2 separate regions of the Homo sapiens genome follow, and region 1 is linked to region 2. The links are contacts of gene promoters, found by promoter capture Hi-C in human tissues and cell types (Jung and others, 2019). All regions are on one chromosome and are shown on one strand. Each heading gives the region's core, a stretch centred on a gene start or on the middle of the fragment in contact. The rest is flanking DNA. Distances are from core to core; before and after follow the strand shown.

Evidence for each region. Contacts are between HindIII fragments. The study calls those that stand out against the background at their distance.
Region 1: a contact is called between the fragment with the promoter of OBP2A here and a fragment that was not itself captured in region 2, in 2 of the 25 tissues and cell types used here (dorsolateral prefrontal cortex and mesendoderm cells).

Annotation. Positions count from the first base shown.
Region 1 is chr9:135,543,835-135,549,844 of GRCh38, reverse strand. OBP2A (odorant binding protein 2A) reads right to left here and starts at 3,719. Exons shown (of 7, transcript NM_014582.3): 1 at 3,593-3,719; 2 at 2,934-3,067; 3 at 2,597-2,667; 4 at 1,864-1,974; 5 at 1,036-1,137; 6 at 514-537; 7 at 1-8. The coding sequence starts at 3,664. The coding sequence ends at 515. The HindIII fragment of the contact is 6,727 bases long and covers 1-6,010 here.
Region 2 is chr9:135,645,138-135,651,457 of GRCh38, reverse strand. No RefSeq gene overlaps it. Among named protein-coding and RNA genes, the nearest start is that of GLT6D1, 8.8 kb to the right of the region's middle. The HindIII fragment of the contact is 6,544 bases long and covers 1-5,644 here.

The DNA.
Region 1 (6,010 bases), core at 2,470-4,969, 100 kb after region 2:
GGGGGCTGCTGTGCTGGGAAGAGGAGCAGAGGTCAGGGAGGCTGCAGGGTAGGGCAGAGGCCAGGCCCAGAGCTCCCTCCCCAGGCTCTGCAGCTTCCACATCGGCCACTGCTGGGCAGCCTCGGGGCTCCAGAGCAGCCTCAGCTCCTCCAATGACTGGGCAGGCCTCTGAGCATCCTTGGTGAGTGGGTGGGGGGGAGTAGACCGAGTGGGGACAGGTGCAGGGGGCGATGGGCCGAGCTGACACCTGAGGGAGCCGGAGGGAGGCCTCGCTGTGGAAAGGCCGAGGAGGACCCTCACTCGGGCTGGCAGGTGCAGGAATGGTAAAACAAAGGACTTCCCGAATGTCCCAGGAATTTTGGGTGGGCAGACTCTGAGGTGCCAACCTCGTGCCTGACCCTGGGGGGGTCTCCCTGGCTGTGTGGGATGGGAAGGGCCAGAGCAGATGTACCCTCGAACCCCGGGAACCCAGGACTCTGGGCTTGTCCAGTGCCCTCCTAAAGGCTCACTCACCCTAGTGTTCGAGAACGCAGCTTCCTGCAGAGACCAAGAAAAACCCAGGGATTAGAAGGCGCCCTAGACCAGGGCCCAGACCCCATCGCAGCCCAGGGCTCAGAGCCCCAGACCCCATCGCAGCCCAGAGCGCGGAGCCCCAGACCCCATCGCAGCCCAGAGCGCGGAGCCCCAGACCCCATCGCAGCCCAGAGCGCGGAGCCCCAGACCCCATCGCAGCCCAGAGCGCGGAGCCCCAGACCCCATCGCAGCCCAGAGCGCGGAGCCCCAGACCCCATCGCAGCCCAGAGCGCGGAGCCCCAGACCCCATCGCAGCCCAGAGCGCGGAGCCCCAGACCGCATCGCAGCCCAGAGTGCAGACCCTCCAACGACGAGGATGCTAAGCAGGGCCCAGAGCCCCTGCGAGGAGACTCGGGGCACACGGGGAATGCGGGGGACATGGGAGGACATGGGGGTCATGGGACACTGGAGATCACACAGAGACACAGGGGAACACGGGGTACTGGGCACAGCCGTCCTCACCCGTCTGCAGGGGCATGAAAATGTCCTCCTCCGAGAGTCCCTTGTGCTGCACCAATTTCTTAAATTCTTCCAGGGCCTCCAGGTTGGTATTAGGATTCCTACCTGCAGGTGAGGTGGCCAGGTGAGCCAAGGTGGGGACAGCGGCACGGCCCTGCAGGGAGCAGATGCTAAAAGGAGACGACCACGGCCCAGCATCAGGACGGGGGAGAGGCCCGAGAGTGGATCAGAGCTCAGGGGTGGGGCTGGGGACAGAAGAGATGGCAACTGTCCAGCACCAGGCAAGGGGGAGAGGAGGCCTGAGAATGGACAAGAGCTCAGGGGTGGGACTGGGGACAGAGGAGACGGCCACCGCCCAGGTGAGAGGTCCCCAGGAAAGGGGACAGTGGCAGGGTCCAAGCCACTCAGCAACCCCAGGGGGACCTGGGCAGCTCCCAAAGCCACTCTGCAGGGTCATAACCCTCACCTGGAGGGACCTTGTGTCCCAGAGGCACTGGCTGCCCTGCCGCCCTGGAGAGTCCCTGCCCCATGAAGAGCTCTGTTAAGATGCTACCTCCCCCTTAAGGTGAGGCCCCTACACCTGAGACCCCACAAGCGGCCCTTGGCAGGTTCATGTCACCGAGGGCCGTGTCTGTCCCTGCCTGGCCCACCCCACTCCCACTTCAGGAACTTGGACCAGCCATCCAGGGCAGCGCTTGGTGCCTAGCACACGAAGGCCGGCGCAGGGGGCTTCCTTTTCCCCCCGTGCCAGGGCGTGATGATGGTGGTTCCACTGGCTTCTGGAGGCAGAGACCATGGGGCAGGACATGCAGGCCCCAGCGGGCCCCTCACCCACAAGCTTTCCCATGTAGCGCAGGCCCCCACGGCGCTGGTCTTTGCAGTAAAAGACGTAGTCGTCCGTCCCGGGCAGCTCCTGCAGGTATATGAGCTTCCTGCCCCCATCTGTAGATGACAGAGAAGATGGGTCTTCAGTGCCCTCATTCCCGGAGAGAGCACTCAGGACCACACGAAGAAACACTCAGGAATGTTTCAGTGGTCACCCAGGTGCCCTGGACAGCCTGAGCCAGGCCTGGCTGCTCCGCACAGCATGGACCCGGACACGGAGGCAGGAGCCTCCTCTCGGAAGGTCCCAATGCAAGTAATGGAGCCACAAGGCCAGAGCACGTCCAGGACTAGAGTCCGGCCTTCCCAGCTCCAGCAGCTGCTCCTGCCCCACTTCCCTGTCCCTAACCCTCGGATTCCTGATCCCAAACCCTCAGCCTTGGCTTCCCATCCCTAACCCTCGGCCTCCTGGTCCCTAACACTCGGATTCCTCAATGTGTCAATGGCTAGGGCCTCCCAGAGGGCAGGCTTGATCTGGTCCATCTCTACTGTGGACAAGCCTGTCACACCTGGTGTCTGATGTCAGGGCCACCAGCCCCCCAGGAAGGAGAGGCCAGCCCCTCCTTGGAGGTGGGCAGGGCTGGGACCCTGGCAGAAGTGTGGCCTGGGCACTCTCCACCTGCAGTGGGGCTGGTGCATCCGGGGTTGGGCATGGGGAGTGGGGGGTCGGGGAGGGGCTCACAGGCGCTGAATTTGCCAGGCTCCTCCGTCTTCCGCATCAGGATTTTCTTCTGGATGCACCGATCCTCCCTCCTGGAAAACAGGAGACACTCGGGCAGCGGCTCCCAGGACACACCTGGCCCATCCTCAGCTCACCTGGTGCATGGCCCTGACCCGGCAACCTGAAAATTCCACTGCCCCCCCACCCCACCGAGCTTCAGGATGTCCTGGCTGTTTCCCTCCAAGGCAGGGGGTGACTCTTCCCAACACCCGAAATGTGGATGGGGCAATGGGCACCAGGTGGGTCTGGGGCGGGGAGCGAAAGTGGCCTGAGGGGCCCTGCAGTGGGCAACACTCACATGAAGGTGAACGTGGCTTCCAAGTTCCCACCGCCCAGGGCTGTCACCTTCACTGGGGACACCTTCCTGGGCCTCCTGTCCTCCGGAAAGTCCTTATCGACCACCATGGCCTTCACGTACCAGGTCCCTGTGATCTGGAGCAGGCCAAGGCCGTGAGCCCACCATGGGTGGCCCAGATTCTACTCTGACCCTGGCACTCAGGCCTGCAGCTATAACCAGACACCCATGGTGCCCGGCTGCCACCCCTAAAGGCAGGCTGGGTTCCTGCACCTTAGTTAGAGCTCAGCTGGAGTGAGTTAGAGCCAGCCCCCTGCTCAGGGCTCCCAGCCCCCAGTGGAAGGAGGGCATGTCTGCACCCCATGGACCCCCGGGCCCCAGCACCAGGTGAGCCCTCCCTCCACAGGGCCCAACCCTGCGAGACCTTCGGGCTTCAGGCGTCAGTGCAGCAGGAACCCCTGAGCCGAGCCTGCTCCGGCCCTGGGCCTCGGGGGGCCGTGTCTGCTGGAGGAACAATAGGACCCCTCCACCACCACCCCAGGCTGGGAGCACGGGGTCAGAAGCCAGCCTTCAGTGACACCTCCTAAAGCAGGGCCCCTGGCACTGCCCCCTGCCCAGGAGTCCACCTGGCTCCTCCATCCGCCCACGCCAACCCAGCTCACATCCTCCTCCTCCAGGGTGAAGGACAGGGCAGCGGCCAGGCCGAGCGTGACACCCAGGAACAGGGTCTTCATCTCCAGAGCTCTGTGCTGCCGACCTCGGCAGGTCACTGGGCGTCTGAACAAGGCTGTGCTGGCTCCTCTCGAGATGTTCTTTATAGCCCCCTGGCCAGTGTCCTGGGAGCACGTGGCACGGTGCACCCCTCCCCATGGTGGCAACCAGTCCTGCATCCGGGAGGGGGAGTGTCCTCATTGCTGGCATCTGGTGAACAGCAATTCAGTGCCAGCCAGAGAAGAAAAGACACACGATGCTGTCCAGGGTTTGCATCCAAATGCGCCCACTTGGATGAGCCCGGAGGACTCCAGAGGACAGGGCAGGGTAGTGCACGTCTGCACCCCGAGCCACAGAGGGAGGGCCCACGGCTCGGAATTCTTCCTCCCTCACCCCTGAGCCCTCCCAGGGCCACGGCTGGGACCCTGGGCAAGTCCTCTGGGGAACTGGCCATCTCCCTGCTGAGCAGAAATGGACTGGGCTTTAGAACCATAGAGACGTGGGGCTGCTGCCAGCTGAGTCCCGCACGCCCTAGAGCCCAAGCTTCCGCCCACTCTGGGACCCACTCTGCATTGATTTTCCCCACCTGGACCCTGCACTCGAGCTTCCTAGGGGCAGAGAAGGGCACTATTGTGTGGTTCAAGGTCAGTATATATACGGCCTCCTCGGGCCATATGAGGGACCCCGCCGCCTGCCCCACCCCGCTTCACTCCGTACCGGAGCCTGGCTGTGCTGTCCTCAGAACACGTGATCTCTCTGGATTGTCCTGCCTGTTTCTTCCTGCACGTGTTCATCATCCATCTCCCTGTTAAATACAAGTGGTAGAGTGGAATATACATTCACTCTACATCCCCTCTCTCGTCAGCTTCGACGGCCCCCAGCCACCGGGACAGGCCTTGAATCTCATCCCTTTAGATAAATGGGTGGCATGAGCATCAAGAGCCACCTGCCAGCCTGTGCTCAGAGTTTGTGGCTGAGCTCCCTTGGGCACCTGGCTCCGCTGGCCTCATCCCCAGCCAACCTGAGCCAGAACTTTGCCTTCTCCCTCCTGGACCCTGTAGTTCCCGGGCCTGCGTCATCTGCCCTGGGACCCAAGGCTGACCCACGCTCTGCAGGCAGGTGCTGGGCCCACACAATCTTTGTGCCTCTCTGGCCCAAGATCAGACACCCTCAAGTGCTTGCTAAATAATACTAATGCACACTCTAATAAACCCTGGGGGCTATAAAGAAAGGGCTGGCGTGACCCAGTGCCTCACCCCTCTCACGGCAAGTGCTGCCGAGCAGAAACCCCATCCTTAGGGCGGGGACTGGGCTCTTCAGGACCAGAGATGAGCAAACAGGCTGGAGTCTCTACCTCAACGGGAAGATTTCTCCGTTCCCCATTTTTGTTGCCTGTACCCCAGGCACCTTGTATTTCTTTTTTTTTTTTTTTTTTTTTTTTTGAGACGGAATCTCGCTCTGTCGCCCAGGCTGGAGTGCAGTGGCGGGATCTCGGCTCACTGCAAGCTCCGCCTCCCGGGTTCACGCCATTCTCCTGCCTCAGCCTCCCAAGTAGCTGGGACTACAGGCGCCCGCCACTACGCCCGGCTAATTTTTTTTTGTATTTTTAGTAGAGACGGGGTTTCACCGTTTTAGCCGGGATGGTCTCGATCTCCTGACCTTGTGATCCGCCCGCCTCGGCCTCCCAAAGTGCTGGGATTACAGGCGTGAGCCACCGCGCCCAGCCGGCACCTTGTATTTCATTGGTTGGTTGTGAATCATTGATTTAAGCACCGTATGACACTGGTGCTGCTGGCTCAATCCTTGAAGAAAATGCTGGAACAACACGCGCAGATGCTTCAGGGAACAGGTCACCCCCATGAATTCTATGCTCGCTGGTACGGGTGCTCTCCAGGAGCCTCCCATTGTCCACCCATCTTGCCCTGTGTCCCAGTCTCGTTCACCAACTGTGTTCTTTTAGATGCTGGTTGGGTTCAACTGCTGCAGACACCGTCAGGGGATGGTAGGGTTGGAGGCTGGGGGTCAACCCATGGCAGACAGCAGGGGCAAGATCCCTGGCCCCCAGTGCTTTGTGGCCTGGTGCGTTTCTCTGGATGGCTTCTGATGGTGGTTCCTGTTGGGTTGTTAAAAGTATTTAACAAAATTCAACACTCATTCGGGATAACACCTCTCAGAAAAATAGGAATAGAAGAGAACTTCTTTAACTTGAAAAAGAACATCTACGAAAAAAAAACCTATGGCTACATTATTTCTAATGGTGAAAGACTGATGTGTAACTGGCTCAAGTCCAGCTGCTCGCTGCTCAGAAGTCAAGGCATGAGAAGTGAGGTGTGGTAAAAGGAAAGCAGCTTTATTCAAATACTGGCAGT
Region 2 (6,320 bases), core at 1,123-3,622:
GTTGTCCCGCCTTTCCGGACTGAACTAATGTTCATCTTACGTATGTTGATTGATGTCTCATGTCTCCCTAAAATGCATAAAACCAAACTGTGCTTGGACCACCGTGGGCACCTGTCATCAGGACCTCCTGAGGCTGTGTCGTGGACAAATGTCCCCAACTTTGACAAAATTAACATTCTAAATTAAATGAGACCTGTCTCAGATTTTGGGGGCTCACATGGCATGTCCTTAACCTTGGCAAAAGAAACTTCTAAATTCATTGGGACCTGTCTCAGATATATTTTGGCTTACAGTCATCATTTAAAGTTATTTCCTTGTTGACCATTTTTATAGCCAGTGAATTTCAGGTGTTTACCTAAGTAAGAATCTTAAGGTTAAATAAATGAATTTTTTGGCCAATAACACAGGATTTACTGTTTTTATTAAATTAACATTAGACCAATAAATCTAAATAATAATGTATGTTGACAATTCTGAAGACATTTCTAATTTTATTTTACCAATTATTTTAAAGTTAGGTTATTTATTAAAGATTTACTGAAGTCATATGAACTTGAAAAGTATTTGCACTTATTTACTTAATTTATTGGCACTCCTTTTTTTTTAAGCCAATTTGGTACCTTGTGGTCACAACACATAACAAAACACACGCATGCACACATAAACACACCTAAGCATGCACGCGCGTACACACTCACACACATGCACACACACCACACGCACACACACATGCACACACTGACACATTTGCACACACACTCGCACATGCACACACCACACATGCACACACTCGCACACACAAAACTCACATGACACACACGTGCACACACACTCGCACACACCACACACTCGCACACGCACATGCATACATTTGCGCACACACACACCACACACTTGCACATGCACATGAACACATTCACATACATGCACACACACACTCGCACACACACCACACACATGCACACTCACACACACACTCGCACAATCACACATGTGCACGCGTGCGCGCACACACACACACAAATAAAGGTCCCATAGCTTTTGCCTTGGAATTCCAGCCAGGAGGTACCAATGCAAACTCACCAGTTTACAAAAGAACGGTTGGATGTGAATAGCGGTTTTTATCTTCGACACCAGCAGAAAGGTCCTTTAAACTAGAAAAAAAATATGTTTCATTGAGCAAAAACCACATCCTCATGTTTTTTAAATAAACTTCACCAAAAATGCATCTTACTTTCCTACTATTCTCTTAGAAACCCTAATTTCCAGCAAAAAACCTAGGATGACTTAATTTAACACAACATGACTTTAAGATTTTCAATTACTGGAGAGAATTGTGAGATTACATTTACCAAATTAATCTTACCAAAGATTACTAAAGTCATGTGAGCTGAAAGGCCTCTGGGCTAGCTTCTATTAGTCTACAAACACTTACTTTTCTTTAAGCCAACTAATTAGAGCTCTTTCATATGATTGGTAGTGAAATATTGTTTCCATGTGACACATAAACACACAGACTTAACAGACACAGACAGAGGCAAATCTTAGGGATTTAAAATGTTTCACTTGCCTGTTTTCAAAGTTTTTTTCTTCCCTACTTTATACCACTAATCTCTTGATTATCTATTCCATGTCTTAAACAATTGTTAACTAGGTAACTCTAAATTTACATCTCCAAATACATGACTTAGGTGAAGCAAGGTAAAAAATGTACATCTCAAAGGCACAGACTTGGATCTAAAAAAGGCAAGGTCTGTTATGTAAATGAAGCCATTGTCTCCCCCTTAGTTAAAGTTCCTAGTGGTTTAGACGCAGAGACAGAGATGTCCTTACAAAATGGAAATTTCCTTTAAAGACATAAATTTCCTTTACACAGAATTTTATTGAAGTGACTTAGTTTGATAGGTAGTATTTTCAGCGGAGCTTGATTAGGTCACTGGCTTTAGGGTGGAGCCCTCTAAGGAACAGAGCCAAGAAAGCATGCACAATTTTCTGATCTAAATGTGCAATGAGTGGCCCCCTGTAGTAATGACCATTTCCTGTAAACTGTCCTCAGCCTTCCCTAACGTTGTAGCTCTCATCTGCCATGACACACACCAAGGTCAAATATTCTCACAGTACAGAGTAATCTCTGGTATCTCTAAAAGTCAAAGAAGTCAAGTAATGCAATACAGGAAAGCAGAACTTTAGACCTAAGAAAAACCTGCCATGACTCTGAAAACTCCACACAGAAAGCAGAACACCCCCGCACAGGGTGAGTGGTGCCTTTATTCTGAGTTATTTAAGGATCCAAGTCATTATGATACAGGAGTGAGAAAGAAATTCAGGCAGATAAGGAGGGTAAGAGAGTCCTCAGCAAGGTTTCCTTTTAATAAAAAGCAGCCCCCAATCATTTCTTTCCTAACAAAAAGCAGCCTGAAAAATCAAGCTGCAAGTATAGATAAACAAGCTAAAAGCTTACATAGGTAAATGCTAGCAGCTGTGGTGATAGAAGAGGGATACCTGGAAGCCAAGTCTGTTCAACATGAAGGATCCCCCTTCCCTTTTCTTGGTCGCCACCTGTGTGGTAAAAGGCAGGCAATATGACACTGGCCAGGTAGAGACCCCATCTGGATAATAAAAGATTAGGGTGGGTCGGCCAGCTTCTTTGTGCACTATGCAAATGGCATGCCTAGTCTGACCAATCTCTCATGTCCTATGTAAATCAGATATTGCCTCCTCAAGCTCGTCTATAAAACCTCGTGCATTTCACCAAGGACCTGGAAGACCCACTCAGACGCCCCTCTCTCTCCGCAGGTGAGAGAGCTATCCTCTTTTCTCTTTCCTTTGCCTATTAAGCCTCTGATCTTAAACTCACTTCTTGTGTGTCTGCATCCTCAACTTCCCTGGTGTGAGATGACAAACCTCAGGTATTTACCCCAGACAACAACGCCGCTTCAATTAGAACCCTTCTGTAGACATTTTTTTCACTTGGTACCAAAGATGGCAAAAGGGCTTCCCCTTTTTGGGAGAAATAGGGTGGAAGAAAAATAAAAGAATAATTTTTTAAGAAAGGAAGCACACAGAGAAATCAAGTGAATGTTTTTTTTTTCTCTTTTGCAGCTTCAAGGAATTTTAGCCAATCCAGAGGGCTTGTTACCCATAGTGTGGAATTCTCATTCAGATTTGGCCAAGTCAGGTAGAGATGGTCAAATCCAATGGGAGAAAGACCAAAACGACAATGAAACCAAACTATATTGTTAGAAAAAAATGCTTGGTGCTGCAAAGAAAACCAGGCAGAAAATTTCTCAGCAAGGCACATTTACTTCTGCAGAAGGGTGCTGCCTGCATCAGTCACAATCGCAAGAGCACACCAAGCTGGGAGGGCAGGGGTTTTTACCCCTAATGCAGTTCCTGTTTCTGTGTCCTTTCCCCATTGGCTGATGCAGTTCCTGTTTCTGTGTCCTTTCCCCATTGGCTGGAGTTGGACTGCACAGTCTAAACTGACCCGATTGGCTAGTGTTTGAAATTGAATAAGGCCAATTATGCGGGAAGGGAGAGGCTGTTCCTTACCAACTAGGTGGGAAGAGTTGTTTACAGAGTAAGAGGTTTGCAGGTTACAGATTAAGCAGAAAAACAAGTGCTCATTACAGATTAAGCAGGAAGGGCTGTGTACAGAGCAAGAAAGACCAAAGAAGCTTTGAAGAGGAACTTATAATTTCTGGCAATATGATTACTGAGCTCTCTAATGGAAGCAGAAATGAAGACCAGGCGGTGGTCAATCTTAACTTTTAGTCATGAGGGAGAATTTTCAAGACAAAACTCCAATTCAGCTACTTACCTAGAAATGGGGCCCAGGCTGAAGACTGCTCTCTACTGTCTCAGAAACAGGAAAAGTCCCAAACTCGCCTTCCCTGTTGGAATCGAGCTGAAACTCCAGAAAAGGAGTTGCTCAGCAAAAGAAACCTCAGATCTCAACCGAATGTTGGGAGATCAGGGATTCTCTGGGGTAGAAGGGGATACTCCTGGACTTCAGCAAATCGGACTTCAGCAAATTGTCCTATTAATTTGAGCAATAAAGATAGCCCAAACTGATACTGAGCATCGATAGGAGTGTCTGCAAAAAGAATCAAACTTGGTAAAATATTTGAAGGGATTTATTCTGAGCCAAATACTAGGGACCATGGCCCATGACACAGCCCTCAGGAGGGCCTGAGAACATGTGCCCAAGGCGGTTGGTTTTATACATTTTATACAAGCTTGGTTTTATGCATTTTAAGGAGGCATGAGACATCAATCAAATACATTTAAGAAATACATTGTTTTGGACCAGAAAGGTGGACAAAGCAGGTGCTTTCAGGTTATAGGTAAATTTAAACATCTTCTGGTTGACAATTGGTTGAGTTTGTCTAAAGACCTGGGATTATAGAAAGGAAATATTCAGGTTAAGATAAAAGATTGTGGAGACCAAGGTTGTTTTAGAGTCTTATAGTGGCTGCCCTTAGAGACAATAGATGGCAAATGTTTCCTATTCAGATCTTTAAAAGGTGCTAGACTTTTAGTTAATCTCTTTAGGATTGGGAGGGCCTGGAAGAAAAAGATCTAGCTATATTAATTCAGATTATTTAGAGATGCAAATTTTCCCCCACAAAGGACAACTTTACAGGGCCATTTCAAGATATGGCAAAGAAACATGTTTTGGGGGTCAAACATTTTGATTTTCGTCCTTGTCTTACAATGTTATGCCAGAGACAGGTTGGAAAGTAAGTCACAATATATAGGGTGAAATAAAACCCAGCTAATGACAATTTATGATTTGTATGGCATGACTCCCCAGGTCCCTTAGATAGGAATTTGGGCATGATAAAAAATCAGTTTAAGGAGAATAGCTTGAACCTGGGAGGCAGAGGTTGCAGTGAGCTGAGATCGTGCCACCGCACTCCAACCTGGGTGACAGAACAAGACTCGGTCTCAAAAAAAAAAAAAAAAATCAGAGTTTAGTCCTCAGGAGATTTGTCAAAGGACCACCTCCACTCAGAGTTCCTTCTGTTGGTCACAATTTGTAAGTCAAAAAGTATCTGAGACAGGTCTTAATCAATTGAGAAGTTTATTTTGCCAATGTTAAGGAAAAGAAAACCAGAATCACAGAAACAGTCTGTGGTCTGTGTCTTTCTCCAAAGATGACTTTGAGGGCCTCAATATTTAAAAGGGAGAAGTGGGCTGGTGGGGAAAAGAAGGAGGGTGTGGTCATCCACAGGTGGCAAGAGAAAAGGAACATGTAGGGAAACAGTCAATCATATATTTGTCTTGTGCTCAGTAATCCACGCTTTTCATAAGGTCAGGTGAACATGGAGCAGCTACCTGTGAAGATACTCAACCTTTTATCTGTAGCTTTCTGCTTAGGAACAAAAGGAGAGGCAGCTTCTTCTATGACTCAGCTTCCAGCTTAATTTTTTTTCTTTTGGATGGGTGAATTGAGGTCCCAAGTTTTTTATTTTCCTTTCACAAATCAATTTTTTAAAAAGAAAGTACCATTTAAAATAGCACCAAAAATGAAATACTAGATGTACATTTTTACTGAAACATGTTCAGAATTTGCATGCTGAAAACTACAAAACAAACAAACAACTCTCAACATTCTTTAGGTTCTTATTTGATAGAAAAGTGTTCTCCATTTTTACTTCCAATGTCCCATTTTTTGGTATCTCTTATAAACAATATGTTATTGACTTTTTGAAATGTTGTCTAAGGGTCATTTTCTTTAAACTAGAAAGAATAACCAAATTACATTTGCTGTCATTGCTGTTGTAGAAAACTTATTTCTGTCCATTTGCTTTGTATTTCCATTTGCTATACAATCAGTTCTGTTATAATGTGACATTCACCATGCTCTGCAAACTAGTGCCAAAAAATCACATGGCTGGTGGGAAAAAATAGGGGTTAGGATCACAATGTTCAAAAATTTCATCAGTAACACATAAAAAGGAGGAACCTAATGAAAATGGTAAGGAATACGTAAATACTACAATCAATATGGCATTTGACCTTGGAAAGGGCTGAAAGTTGCCTGTGGATAAGGGTAGGGTCTGCAGCCTATGAGTTAGTGTCAAGTGCTGGAGGTAGGGGCCCCTGAATGGACAGGTCTGGACAGGTGTGGCTCAGCCAACCCAGGATGAACCACGCTTTTAAAATGTAAAGAGACAAAGAACTTAACAGAAAGTGGAAAAAAAGCTACAGACAGTTTACAGACAAGCAATGCAATGACTCTCAAACAGGTGAAAAGATGCTTAACATCAGCCATAGTAAAATAAATGCAAACTGAAACTACAACAAGAGAACAT